2 separate regions of the Homo sapiens genome follow, and region 2 is linked to region 1. Evidence: promoter capture Hi-C in human tissues and cell types (Jung and others, 2019). All regions are on one chromosome and are shown on one strand. Each heading gives the region's core, a stretch centred on a gene start or on the middle of the fragment in contact. The rest is flanking DNA. Distances are from core to core; before and after follow the strand shown.

The links. The method cuts DNA at HindIII sites, captures the fragments that hold promoters and counts their contacts. A contact is called where the count stands out against the background at its distance.
Region 2: a contact is called between a fragment that was not itself captured here and the fragment with the promoter of UCMA in region 1, in 2 of the 25 tissues and cell types used here (ovary and stomach).

What each region holds. Positions count from the first base shown.
Region 1 is chr10:13,230,438-13,237,586 of GRCh38, forward strand. UCMA (upper zone of growth plate and cartilage matrix associated) reads right to left here and starts at 3,937. Exons shown (of 5, transcript NM_145314.3): 1 at 3,764-3,937; 2 at 3,298-3,363; 3 at 3,101-3,196. The coding sequence starts at 3,821. RefSeq lists an enhancer at 3,640-4,550. The HindIII fragment of the contact is 17,086 bases long and covers 1-7,149 here.
Region 2 is chr10:13,189,675-13,196,883 of GRCh38, forward strand. MCM10 (minichromosome maintenance 10 replication initiation factor) reads left to right here. Exons shown (of 20, transcript NM_018518.5): 11 at 1,625-1,725; 12 at 2,581-2,691; 13 at 2,777-2,894; 14 at 5,367-5,595. Among named protein-coding and RNA genes, the nearest start is that of MCM10, 32 kb to the left of the region's middle. The HindIII fragment of the contact is 3,146 bases long and covers 1,293-4,438 here.

The DNA.
Region 1 (7,149 bases), core at 2,687-5,186:
CGATGTAAAGCTCTCTACTTTCAAGGTATTTCCCCCAACACGAGCTTCAACTGGAGAAACCCATGAAGCCAGGGAGGCCACGTCTAGGGCAGGAAGAACCAGTCCCTCAGCACGCCTCACGATCTCACAGTGGGATTCCCCTCACACCAAATGGGGGAGACGGAGGTACTGTTTTTTTGCCCCATCAACTCTGATGTGCAAGAGGAGGCTGGGGGGTGCTGAAGGAAGCAGAGAAGCTGGGGAAAGTCATGGTTCCCTACCCCCAACCCACATTACAGAGGTGCTGGGAGAAACAAGGAAAAGTCTTTGCAAAATGATAATATTGGAAACCATCTCAGGCCGGGCGTGGCGGCTCACGCCTGTAATCCCAGCACTTTGGGAGGCCGAGGCGGGCGGATCACTTGAGGTCAGGAGTTCAAGCCCAGCCTGGCCAACATGGCAAAACCCCATCTCTACTAAAAATACAACAATTAGCCAGGCGTGGTGGCAGGTGCCTATAATTCCAGCTACTTGGGAGGGTGAGGCAGGAGAATTGCTTGAACCGGGGAGGTGGAGGTTGAGATCACGCCACTGCACTCCAGCCTGGGCAACAGAGCGAGACTCTGTCTTAAAATAAATAAATAAATAAACAAACAAACCATCTCAAATCCTTGGAAGTAAGACGCTTACCTTAATTAATGAATTATATAAATACTAGTTATTTCTGTTACTTTTCTATTACTTAACTCAGATTAAAAATCAAGTTATCTGTGAACTGGGCTTAGTGCAGATTCCAGACGTCTGGAATGTTTCTTCCCAAACGTCTGCCGTGACCTACTTAGTTGCAGGAAACTTGAGTCTGGCAGAAGGGGTTGGTTATCCCATCCATACCCATGCCCCACCTCTCACTCGGCATTCACACATTTCTCAGAGGGGATTCAGGCTCAGAGATGTGCATGACCTAACAGAGGTCACACAGCAGATTGGGGCAGAGCTAGGGTACCAGGTTCCCACACGCCACTGCTGGCTCAGCTTCCCTCTTCCCACCCACTGTGGGTCCTGATGTTGCTCCAAGCGCCAGAAAGCCGTTGTGGGAGGTGCGGGGGCTTAGGGTTTAGGAAGCAGGTACTTAGTAAGTCACTGCCTATTCCTAAAGAAGCGTCCTCTGTCCCCTGTGTACTCAGGACAGCAAACAATCTTCCCAAGTGGTCTTTTCAGAGGTGTCACAAATTAGAGCTTTGACGTAATGAATAAGAACAATTTAATCCTCAGGACAAGATAGTAATTTTATACTATGTGTCATTCTGTGCATTGTATACGTTTCTTCTCAAGAACATGCATTCATCACACTCTCTTTTCACCCTAAAGTAACTTCACCTTTATCCCAGAGGCTTAGAGATGTCAGATGCCTGTCTCCTGGTTCCAAATTCAAGTTGGCTGAAGTGTCTGTCACCTGCCCTTTATCCAACCTGAGGCATCGCTGGGCACTGCCCTCCTGCTATCCACAGGAGTTGACTGGGTGACAGCAGATGCATTCATGCACAATCCTGGGTGTTCACCAGGCTGTCCTGCACCTCCCATGACTAATTGACACACTGAGCTTCTGTCCGAGGTAAGGCACTTCAGGCTAAATGGTGTAGCTCATTGTTTGGAGTCAGCTTAAGAGGACAGAAGAGGCCATGCGCGGTGGCTCATGCCTGTAATCTCAGCACTCTAAGAGGCCGAGGCAGGGGGGTCACCTGAGTTCAGGAGTTCGAAACCAGCCTGGCCATCATGGCAAAATTCTGTCTCTACAAAAATACAAAAATTAGCAGGCGTGGTGGCAGGCATCTGTAATTCCAGCTACTTGGGAGGCTGAAGCAGGAGTATTACCTGAACCTGGGAGGTGGAGGTTGCAATGAGCCAAGATCCTGCCACTGCACTCCAGCCTGGGCGACAGAGTGAGACTCCATCTCAAAAAAAAAAAAAAAAAAAAAAAAGAGGACAGAAGCTATTTGCCTGGCCTAAAATCATGCCTGTTTCCCCTGGAAGTCTGCCAGAAGATTGCTTCTCCCATTTTAATCAAAAACAGTCCAGCCCCCCTCCCAACCTTTCAGTGCTTCTTGACATTGGCCAACTTTTAAATCTCCAGTTGTATGAGGCCTGGAGGTTTTCCTAGCACGGTTATACTTATTCAATTTTTTTTAAAAAAAGAAATTTCATCTCCAAGCATTTCTATCTCTGTTCTTCCCATCATTTGAAAACAGTCCTGTTATTTTTACCAAGCAAGTCACCTTGCTGAGTGCCCTGAAGAATACAAAGAGTTCATTCACCCACAGGCACGAGGAGGAAAGACTCAAGCCAGAGACTCGGGAGATACTGTCTGAGCTCAGCATCTTGGAAGAAGCAGGTTCAGGAGTAGAAACTCAAATGCCCTCAGGGGTTGGCAGGTGAAGGGCATGAGGACCCTGAAGCCGGGGCTCCACAGGCCCTACAGCAGGCTGTGCAACAGACAGGCTCACCCCAATGTGTTGAAAATGAAAACTTAAAAAAAAAAAAACCTCTGCTGGCTGAACACAGCTCTTTCAGAGGCTTATAAATAAGGAAATTAGGACCAGAGGGAGGAAGTAGCCAAGGCCACTTAGCAGCACAGCTGTCCCCAGACCCACATTTCTCAGCACCCAGTGTCCTGTGCCTTCCCCATGTGCGATGCTGTTGCTCTTATACAGAAGGTGTGCTGGACCAGTACCCGCAAAGCACACACTGATGTGTGGGTCGCCTCCAGACCAGAATATAGATTTCCCTCCCTACACCTTTCTGAAATCCAATGCATCTTATCCCTGTTAGGTGTGTTTAATGTAGCATCATGGCCAAGAAGCAGGACAAGAGGACCTGTCTCCAAGTCATCTTTGCAGAGGTGGGGCCTCCTAACCCTGACAAAGTATTCAATCCAATATACGACCTACAGTCAGGAAATAGGGTGTAATTTCTCATTCAGAGCTGCAGTCCCTTTGATACCCTGGGGTGAGCCCTTCGTGCCCAGCTGCATCCTGCTGCCCGGCTGACTGTGGGAGAGGAGGAGCCGGGGGGTGTGAGCAGAGGTGGTGATGGACGCGGGATGGGGTCCCTCCAGCATCCTTACCATTGACCTCATCTCTGGACTTGGGGGACCGCTTGCCGCGCCTCTTGAGGAAATTCGAGGCATCTGATTCCTGCATGAAAATCTTCTGTTTTGCATCTGAAACCCGGGAGAGGCCTGTCACCAGCAGTGTGGGGGTGCTGGGGCTGCTGCTTCGCTGGCTGCACCTGCCCTGCCCCGTGGGTGGCCCCTGCACTCACCTTCACTCGCCTCTTCTCCCGCCATCTGCATGGTGCCCACAGATACACTGGTTCCCTCTCTCAGCACTGCAGGACAAGGGCACAGAGTGAGGCTGCAGCATCAGAGGGGAGCCCAGACCCTGAGCTGAGTCCCCATCTCTCTTTCCAGGCTAAGCGTCCTGCCAGGGCCTGGCAGGGGGCCCGTGGTTTCTCACGTACCAGCTGCAGAGCCAATCTCCCCAGGAACCCACCAAGCAAGCTGGCTTGGGTTTTTTTTCTATTTTGTTTCTTTCTTTACTGTTTTTTATTATTATTATTATTTTTCTGTATTGCATTGTGTCCTACATGCACACGACACACACATACACACATGTTAACAATAAGCATACTCCTTTCTACCTGCATCACCTGAGCAGCCTTACCTGTGCATGGTAAGTCTCCCTTACCATGTAACTAACACCCTCCACCTTGACCCTCCTGTACTCACTAGACAGGAGCACCACGGCGGAGAAGCAAGACAGCAGGACGGCCTGTCTCCAAGTCATCTTTGCAGAGGTAGGGGCTCCGTCCAGGACCCACAAGGCAGACCAGGCGTCCTGCACCCTTTGGGTCCCCACTTCTGAGGCAGGCAGCCCAGGCGAGAGGAAGGAAGGCGGGGGAGGGAAGAGAGAGGCAGGAGGCTGGGATACCACTGGGGGAGAGGAGGAGGGGGCTGGGCTGCCCTTTCCATTGGCTGCTCCTAGATGGAGCAACGGAGATGTTTTTGGCACCTGGCAAATGTCTCCAGAAGCAGAGCTTGTAGTTAGGGCCCTGGGTGGGACGGTCTTGGAGTGGCCTTTCCAATGTCCGTGTCTGGGGATCTGCTGCTGGGAAGGCTCATCCTAACAGTCAGGGTTCCAGTGACCAAGGCCTGTGTCAAGGAGGTCCTGGCACCTGCTCCAGGGACGTTAGGGCCCCGGTCCTCAGGGTTGAAGCATGGGTGGGGGCAAGGAGGAAGAGAGGATCAATGGGGGAGTTTTGATCTAAATGTCAGTCAAGAAGGGCTCATAATGACTGGAATACCCATCAGGGTGACACACAGACGTGTGGGTCATGCTGACAGCGACCAGAGAACACCTTACCTGATGCACTGCTTCCAGCTGATGCTCACTGCCAAGCCAAACACAAACTCCTGGGGCCGCGGGTCCCAGAGCCCTTTAAAGTCAATTGCCTTCCCGCGGTGGCTCATGCCTGGAACCCCTGCACTTTGGGAGGCCGAGGCAGGCAGATCACCTGAGGTTAGGAGTTCGAGACCAGCCTGGCCAACACGGTGAAACCCTGTCTCTATTAAAAATAAAAATAAACAAATTAGCCGGGCATGGTGGCGGGCGTCTGTAATCCCAGCTACTCAGGAGGCTGAGGCAGGAGAATCACTTGAACCCGGGAGGCAGAGGTTGCAGTGAGCCGAGACCGCGCCACTATACTCCAGCTGGGGTGACAGAGCAAGACTCAGTCCCAAAAAAAAAATACATATAAAATAAAATAAAATAAAAATTTAAAAGTTAAAAACAGCGGCCGGGCACGGTGGCTCACGCTTGTAATCCCAGCACTTTGGGAGGCAGAGGTGGGCGGATCATGAGGTCAGGAGATCGAGACCACGGTGAAATCTCGTCTCTACTAAAAATACAAAAAAAATTAGCCGGGCGTGGTGGCGGGCACCTGTAGTCCCAGCTACTCAGAGAGGCTGAGGCAGGAGAATGGCGTGAACCCGGGAGGCAGATCTTGCAGTGAGCCGAGATTGCACCACTGCACTACAGCCTGGGTAACAGAGCGAGACTCCATCTCAAAAAAAAAAAAAAAAAAAAAATTTAAAAACAGCAAGGCCAAATTCAATCACCTTCCACAGCGGAGGGGGAGAAGGGCAGGTATCTGAAAAGCTCCACAGCTAATCCTGCATCTCTAGGAAGACACACATCATACTCCATGTAGGGGAGGAAATGGGTTCCCAGAAATGGGACCACTAATGAAATCAGCACCAACATGGCCATTAGAGCTCAGTCCCCTTGGAGATGTGTTCCTAATGTTGCCTTTGTTAGGAACCATCAACTCTTTGCTGTCAGCCTTCTGGCATCGTTTAATGTTTGTCTAATGGGAACCATCACTAGACCTAGAACCCAGCCCATACCTACCTGAAGCTCCCCTCTTACAAGACTTTTATGTTAGCTAGGCAAAGTGGCTCAAGCCTGAAATCCCAGCCCTTTGGGAGGCCGAGGCAGGAGGCTCACTTGAGGCCAGGGGTTGGAGATAAGCCTGGGCAACATAGCGAGACCCCCATGTCTATTTAAAAAAAGAAAGACTTTCAGTCGGGCGCAGTGGCTCATGCCTGTAATCTCAGCACTTTGGGAGGCTGAGGTAGGTGGATCAGTTGAGGCCAGGAGTTCTAGACCAGCTTGGCCAATATGGCAAAACCCCATCTCTACTAAAAATACAAAAATTACCCAGGCGTGGTGGCATGAACCTGTAATCCCAGTTACTCAAGAGGCTGAGGCAGGAGAATCGCTTGGACCCAGGAGGCAGAGGTTGCAGTGAGCCGAGATTGCGCAACTGCACTCCGGCCTGGGTGACAGAGCGAGACTTTGTCTCAAAAAAATAAAAAAAGGCCGGGTGCAGTGGCTCATGCCTGTAATCCCAGCAGTTTGGGAGGCCAAAGTAGGTGGATCACCTGAGGTCAGGAGTTTAAGACCAGCCTGGCCAACATGGTGAAACCTTGTCTCTACTGAAAATACAACAATTAGCTGGGCGTGGTGGTGGGCACCAGTAATCCCAGCTATTCAGGAGGCTGAAACATGAGAATTGCTTGAACCCGGGAGGTGGAGGTTGCGGTGAGCTGAGATCGCACCATTGCACTCCAGCCTGGTCAACAAGAGCGAAACTCCATCTAAAAAAAAAAAAAAGAAAGAAAAGAAAAGAAAGACTTTCATGTTTACATCCCTCATGGACTTTACCGTCGTCCAGGAAAAGAATGTTAAGGCAGAAAAATAACTGAGACAGAGTAAACAAAATAAAGGGTTGGTTTCCAGTGGAAGAAAATGGGGTTGATGGCTATGCTGGCTGGCCCTACGTGGGCTCCCCTGGGATACTGGCTGGCCTGCACTGAACATGGGAGCAAGGGCTCTACATGGCTGAACGAATGCATGAGGACAGAGCCACAGGGCTCATCTATCAAATGAACTGGATGTCACTGGGAGAGGGGAGGGACAGACACAGGGCTGAGCGATTTTGATGGGACGTCCAGTGAGAAAGCGGACATGTGACAAACCCGTGACATCCTCCATACCCTAAGTCCACTTGTGCCTTTTTAATTCTATTTGTTTCAGCCACAAACTTGTATTGAACACCTGCTGCCATGCACCAGGCACCTGTGCCCGTCACTGGCGAGTCAGCCTTGGGTAAATCATTTTTAAAATTTTTTCAGCTGGGCGTGGTGGCGCATGCCTATAATCTCAGCACTTTGGGAGGCCGAGGCAGGCAGATCACCTGAGCTCAGGAGTTTGAGACCACCCTGGGCGACATGGTGAAACCCCATCTCTACTAAAATACAAAAAATTAGCTGGGCGTGGTAGTGTATGCCTGTAGTCCCAGCTACTTGGGAGGCTGAGGCAGGAGAATTGCTTGGGCCCCGGAGGCAGAAGTTGCAGTGAACCGAGATCATGCCACTGCACTGCAGCTTGGGCTACAGAGTGAGACTCCATCTAAAAAAAAAAAAAAAAAAAAAATTCGTAGAGACAGGGTTTCACCATGTTGTCCAGGGTAATCTGATGTCTGACCTCAAGCAATCCCCCTCCTTGGCCTCCCGAAGTGCTGGGATTACAGGCGGGAGCCACCGCGCCCAGC
Region 2 (7,209 bases), core at 1,616-4,115, 42 kb before region 1:
GTGTTAATTACAGTGTTAACACCCTTTTAATTATTTCTCGTATGACTATATGAGTGAGGCTACAGACCTCATGGAACCCAAATTTCATTCAGTGAGTGAATATACTATGAAGCTTCACATGGGGAGTGGGGCGATGCTGGGCAGGCATCCATGGCCCCTTGCCTGGGGGTTCAGAGTCACTACAGCCCCTGACGCTGTAATCCAGGGGTGTCCAATCTTTTGGCTTCCCTGGGCCCCTTTGGAAGAATTGTCTTGGACTACACATAAAATATATTAATGATAGCCTATAAGCTTAAAAAAAGAAAGAAAAGAAAAGAAAAATCTCTTAATGTTTTAAGAAAGTTTATGAATTTGTGTTGGGCCGCATTCAAAGCCATCCTGGGCTGCATGTGGCCCGCAGGCTATGGTTTGGATAAGCTTGTAATCAGTGGCCTCGTCACTACATTATATAAAGCATATCTGAGGACTTGGCACGAGGCAGCTACAGTTGGTCCAAGAATAAAACATAGATTTTTGTTCCCAATCCAGCAGGAATGGGGCAAGAGGACTCATTTCCTGTTTCTTTTTTAACAGTAAGCATGTTTTTGAGATTTAAAATTATTTCTGAATTTTTCCAATCTGCTAAAACAATACATGTATATTAGTCTTTTAAAAGAACATACAATCCAACCAATGGAGAAAATAAAAACCAACTATAATCCTATCACCTGAAAAACTGTTAGTTCTAGGCCAGGCACAGTGGCTTACACCTGTAATCCCAGCACTTCGGGAGGCCAAGGCAGGAGGATTGCTTAAGCCCAGGAATTTGAGACCCGCCTGAGCGACATGGCAAAACCCCATCTCTACAAAATGCAAAAAAAATTAGCTGGGCATGGTGGCACATGCCTGTAGTCCCAGCTGTTTGGGAGGCTGAGATGGGAGAATTGCTTGAGCCTGGGGAAGTTGAGGCTGCAGTGAGTCAGGATTGCTCCACTGTACTCCAGGCTGGACAACAGAGTGAGATCTTGTCTCAAAAAAAAAACCCCAAACTGTTAGTTCCTTGGTATATATACTCCTAGGTGTTGTGTTTCTTCATATGTGTACATTTTTAGTAATATAAAATGAGATCATATTGTTCCTATTCTTTGTATCCACTTTTTTTCCAGTGTAAAATAATTAATGTTTTTCTCATGTATTTTCAGTGGCTACATAGTGTTCTTTTGCATACTCTGCCTTAATTCATTTAAACAATTCCCTGTGGGTGAACGTTAATGGTGTTTCCAATGTATGACATTATAAACAAAGCTGCCATTAATATCCTAAATTTTTGCATAATCCTTAATTATTTTAAGATAAATATCCAGACTGCTGGATCAAAGCATTGGCTTTTTTTTTATTTCTTTTGCCAAATTTCCTTCCAGAATGGCCTCAAGTGGATTTGTAGGCTGCCTCTAGCTTTTCCTCTGTGACACAGTGCATAAACCAGTTATGCTATTGGGCCGTAACATTAAGAAAGCCTACTTAGATGGTGTTTTGAGAAACTTTGACGGTGTGTGTAATAAATGATGATATCTATGCCTTCTTTACCTCATCAGAGCATTGAGGCTTTAGTGATTCTCCTTTTGGGGGTGACTTGTCATTTCAGTGCAGCAGCTGTGGCTCCTAAGAAGAAGATTCAAACCACTCTGAGTAATCTGGTTGTTAAGGGCACAAACTTGATCATCCAGGAAACACGGCAAAAACTCGGTAACTTTGTTTTTCCATAAGAAATTTCTTTCTCCAGTTTAATTATGCAGCCTTAGGGATAAAAGACTACACATTGGGTACAGGGTACACTGCTCCGGTGATGGGTACACCAAAATCTCAGAAATCACCACTAAGAACTTATTCATGCACAAAAATAAATAAATAAGCAAGCAAGCAAGCAAGCAAGCAAGCAGTCTTTAGGGTTGAAAATGGATACAGCTCATACTCTTAAGTAATAAGAATCCAGTCATCACCTGTACTTAGTGAGTGGCGCGGTCTAACCTAAAGGAATCAAGCCAGGTTTGCAGGACCTTAAGGAAAAAAACAGCATATTGATTTTAGCTATGTCTTACCTTAGTATGCTTTTTAAAATTTCTTGGTGTATCTGGGTCCAACTCTTTACATCCAGCATTAGAATCAGCAGTATTATCTTCCTGGCCAAGCTTATTGGTTATCTTTTGTTAAAATGGGTCTTGGTCATAAAAACAAAAAAATTTTTAATAAAATAAAAACAAATAAAAACAAGTCTTGATCAGAGAATGCAGCCCCCATCCTGGGCTTGTGGTCAGGGACCCTTATCCTTAGCGGATATTCCAGAAACAGGGTATGGAATGACCCCCAGATTTAAGGGCTTAATATTCTAATCATTACTAGAAATAAAATATAGTCGAGATACCCTGCCATCCTATGAGTCTGATGATAGAGGTTAAGGATTCTTTTCTTTCCTCTTGGGATTCCGTCTTCTTCGTTTACGTATGACTAAAATTACAAGTGCAGAGTTTAGAAAGTGGTATGTCATATGACCTCAAACCATCTGAATGTGAATCCTCTAAAGCTGGTGTTGACCTGGCACAGGAATACCCCAGAAGAGCCTGTCTTGCTCTGAGGAGTTCAAGGAACTGATGGACCTGCCGACGTGTGGAGCCAGGAACTTAAAACAACATTTAGCCAAAGCCACAGCTTCAGGTACCATCAGCTGCATGGCCACACGTGTGTCCCTGTGTTCCCTCAGCCTCCCAGGGCACCCCCTCAGTCTGGGCTTCTGTTTCAGGGATTATGGGGAGCCCAAAACCAGCCATCAAGTCCATCTCGGCCTCAGCACTCTTGAAGCAACAGAAGCAGCGGATGTTGGAGATGAGGAGAAGGAAATCAGAAGAAATACAGAAGCGGTAAGAGGAGCAGATTTAATATTCCCCGCTTGGGTCATCCATCTCAGGCGTCCTCAGAACGTCTTCATCGATTTCCAGAATGTGACTTCAGGTTTCGGTTGGCTGCGTTTTAACTCTGAAAGTTTAAAATAGTTTTCCCATAACCTGAATAGCATTTAAGGCTGTATTATTTCTTACACTGGTGACTCCCAACACCAAATGGTACAGGTTAGAGTCGTTATCACCATGGAAAAGGGAAAGGAGTGAAGTGTATGTAAAGAGGGTTTTTGTGAAGGGGGAGAGCGTAGGTTCACATGCTGGCTGTCATTTTCTCTCTCTCTCTCTTTTTTTTTTCTGAGACGGGTTTTCACTCTGTCACCCCAGCTGAAGTGCAATGCTGCAGTGTCGGCTCACTGCAACCTCCATGTCCCAGGCTCAAATGATCCTCCTGCCTTGGCCTCCCAAGTAGTTGGGACTACAGGCATGTGCCACTATGCTTGGCTAATTTTTGTATTTTTTTATAGAGACTGGGTTTTGCCATATTGCCCAAGCTGGTCTCAAATTCCTGGACGCAAGCCTGGATTTGCCTGGCTGCCATTTCTGGGTTTTGCCGCAATTCAGTTTTTTATGACAGGCAGAGCCAGTGAGTAGAATACAGTTCTTTGGATAAAGGACAAAACTGAAGCACTAAAAATGGAGAGTCATTTTAGAGGCAAAAGCAAGTGGAAATGTGTTACTTGGCTTCAGCCAATAATTAAAAAAAAAAAAAATCAAGTGGAAATGCATAGGGTAGGTGGACAAATGAATGATTCCTGAACTCAGGTCACCTGAATACTAATGAGAGCTGCGGTTCACAGGCACTTCATACGTACTCCATAAACACAGTATCTGAGCCTCCGGAGGCTTCTCAGCCTTGTTTTACTAATAGTGTGCCTGGAGATCAGAGAGCTAGTTTATGGTGGGGCCGAGTTTTGGGCTCACACATGTTGTGCTCTGGTGCTGAACCTTTTGCCATCCCGAATCTGGGCTGCTGAAAGGCAACCACATCCATGAAAGGGAGTCAATGATAAGACAAGAGGAAATTCTTTGGGAAAGTAAGAGAATGGGTTTGGTCTCAGGCAGATTAGTTTGAAGTGCCGGTGGGATATCTATAGAGCTATTCATCTTGAGCCTACAGATGACATAAATTATATACGTGGACACAGAAATATGTATGGAGTTGGGGGCCTCGTGGGAAATAGAGAATGCCCATCAGCTTGAAGGCATTGCGTAATGAAAATTTTCAGAATTTTGTTGGCCAAGGAAACCTTATCTTTGCGTAGGATTTGATAGGCAGTTTGCAAACACAGCCTAGAGCTTGCAAGAGTGGCTGTGCGGTTGGGAAGAGTACTGCTCTGGGATGGCCTGGCTCTAATCCTGAGTCTGGCCCTTGTGAGTAATGTGATCCTAGGCCTCAGTTTCTTCATCGATCAAATGAGAAGTTTGGACTAGATGATTTCTGGGGTTTGTTATTTGTTTTTAAATATCTCTTATGAGGCTGGCTTGGTGGCTTATGTCTGTAATCCTAGCACTTTGGGAGGCCGAGGCAGGCAGATCGCCTGAGCCCAGGAGTTTGAGACCAACCTGAGCAAAATGGCGAAATCCTGTCTCTACAAACAGTACAAAGATTAGCTGGGCATGGTGGTGCACACTGTGGACCCAGCTACTCGGGAGGCTGAGGTGGGAGGATCACCTGAGCCTGGGAGGCAGAGGTGGCAGCGAGCCGCAATCGTGCCAACGCACTCTAGTCTGGGTGACAAAGCAAGACCCTGTCTCCAAAAACAAAAGTAAAATAGCTCTTAAAACTATTTTTTGCCAGGCATGATAGCTCACGCCTATAATCCCAACACTTGGGAGGCTGAGGCACGAGAATCACTTGAACCTGGGAGGCAGAGGTTGCAGTGAGCCAAGATCATGCCACTGCACTCCAGCCTGGGTGACACAGCGAGACTCTGTCTCAAAAAAATCAAAAAAAAGAAAGGGGATGTAAAATAATCGCTGCAAGTTACAGTGTTTTTCATTAATGACTTCCAAATGTCTCACATGTATTGTCTCTTCCCAGTAGCATAAACAAAGATGCAGGGAGGTGCAATGAGTTCCTACAGGCCCTAGAGCTGACGGTAGGGGTGGGAATACAGTTCACACCGCGTCTTCAGCTGTGTTCCTTGTGGATGACATCCACTGGACAGCCAATTGATAAAAACAGTTATCAGTTCTAAAGTGTTAGGACAATTACAGCTTATTCAAAGAAAACTCAATTAAGGAGGAGTTAGTAAAGCTAGTATTGTTCTTATCGTGTGCAAATTTGAATTACCAGCCTAGAAGGGGACATTATTTTGCTAACAACTAGCTCCCAACTGGTGGCCTGCCTGCCGCCTCCCAGTCCACTTTGAGTTCTAGAGTTTTTATTTTCGTAAACCCTGTTTGCGTATTTTGACTGTATGTTCTTTAAAGATTTCTGCAGAGCTCAAGTGAAGTTGAGAGCCCAGCTGTGCCATCTTCATCAAGACAGCCCCCTGCTCAGCCTCCACGGACAGGATCCGAGTTCCCCAGGCTGGAGGGAGCCCCGGCCACAATGACGCCCAAGCTGGGGCGAGGTGTCTTGGAAGGAGATGATGTTCTCTTTTATGATGAGTCACCACCACCAAGACCAAAACTGAGTGCTTTAGCAGAAGCCAAAAAGGTAACTGGCATCTCTTCTCTTTAGCACTTGAGTTTGCATTCTGTAGAGCAGAGCTGGAGGAAAGACAGACACCTAATAGCTCTTTATTGATCGTGATCATTAGAGTCAGTGTAATTTGAAAACATGGTAGTGTCAACATAATACTAAAAGAAAGTTAGATCTGTTATCTCAACACTTTTTCTTGTCAGGCTACAAGAGGTAGCCTAGAGGAAGATAGTGTTTTATAACCAGAGGCATTGACAGTAGGAAAACAATGCTTGGAATTGTTGAGGTGAGACTGTAAAATGGTGGTTTAAGGAATCCTTTTTTTACGTTTATTTATTTATTTATTTATTTATTTATTTATTTATTTATTTTTTGAGAAGGAGTCTCACTCTGTCACCCAGACTGGAGTGCAGTGGCGCAATCTCGGCTCACTGCAACCTCCTCCTCCCAGATTCAAGCGATTGTCCTGCTTCAGCCTCCCGAGTACCTGGGACTACAGGCGCCTACCACCACGCCCGGCTAATTTTTAGTAGAGACATGGTTTCACCATGTTGGCCAGGCTGGTCTCGAACTCCTGACCTCAAATGATCTGTCCACCTCGGCCTCCCAAAGTACTAGGATTATAGGTGTGAGCCACCATGCCTGGCGGTTTTATTTTTTATTTGTTGAGACAGACTATCCCCCTGTCACCCATGCTAGAGTGCAGTGGTGCAATTATGGTTCACTGCAGCCTCAACCTCCCAGGATCGATTCATCCACCTGCCTCAGCCTCCCAAGTAGTAGCTGGGACTGCAGGCACATGCCACCACGCCTTGGCTAATTTTTGTATTTTTTGTAGAGATGGGGGCCTCCCTTTGCTGCCCAAGCTGGTCTTGCACTCCTGGACTCAAGCAGTCCCACCTCAGCCTCCCAAAGTGCTGGGACTACAGGCATGAGCCACTGTGCCTAACCAAGAATCCTTTAAAAGAAATCTTACACAAAAGTCCAGTCCCATGACAGGTGAAAGCTGAGTTGCTGCGGCTGAAGTAGGGGTAGGGCACCCAGAGCCCCACCTGCCCACTTCCTGAGTGCCCCAATCGAGCCTCTCTCTTCCCTTAAGTTAGCAGCTGCAGCCAAATGAAGGGCAAAGCTTGCTGTATGCCAAAACCTTACCTATAATAATAACAACAGGAATACCTACAATAACCATGGCACATGTCCATATTACTCAGTACTTGTGATATGTGTGTGCCATGTATTTACTATGTTTATTTATTTATTTATATATATATTTTTTGAGATGGAGTCTCGCTCTGTCACCCAGGCTGGAATACAGTAGTCCGATCTCGCCTCACTGCATCCTCTGCCTCCTGGGTTCAATCAATTCTCTTGCCTCAGCCTCCCGAATTGCTGGGATTACAGGTGCCCACCACCATGCCTGACTAATTTTTGTATTTTTAGAAGAGACAGGGTTTCACCATGTTGGCCAGGCTGGTTTCGAACTCCTGACCTCAAGTGATCCACCTGCCTCAGCCTCCCAAAGTGCTGGGATTACAGGCATGAGCCACTGCGCCCGGCCAGGAATGTATTTGCTATGTAAAGATTCATACTTTGCAGATATTATCTTATTTCATCCATACAACCATGACC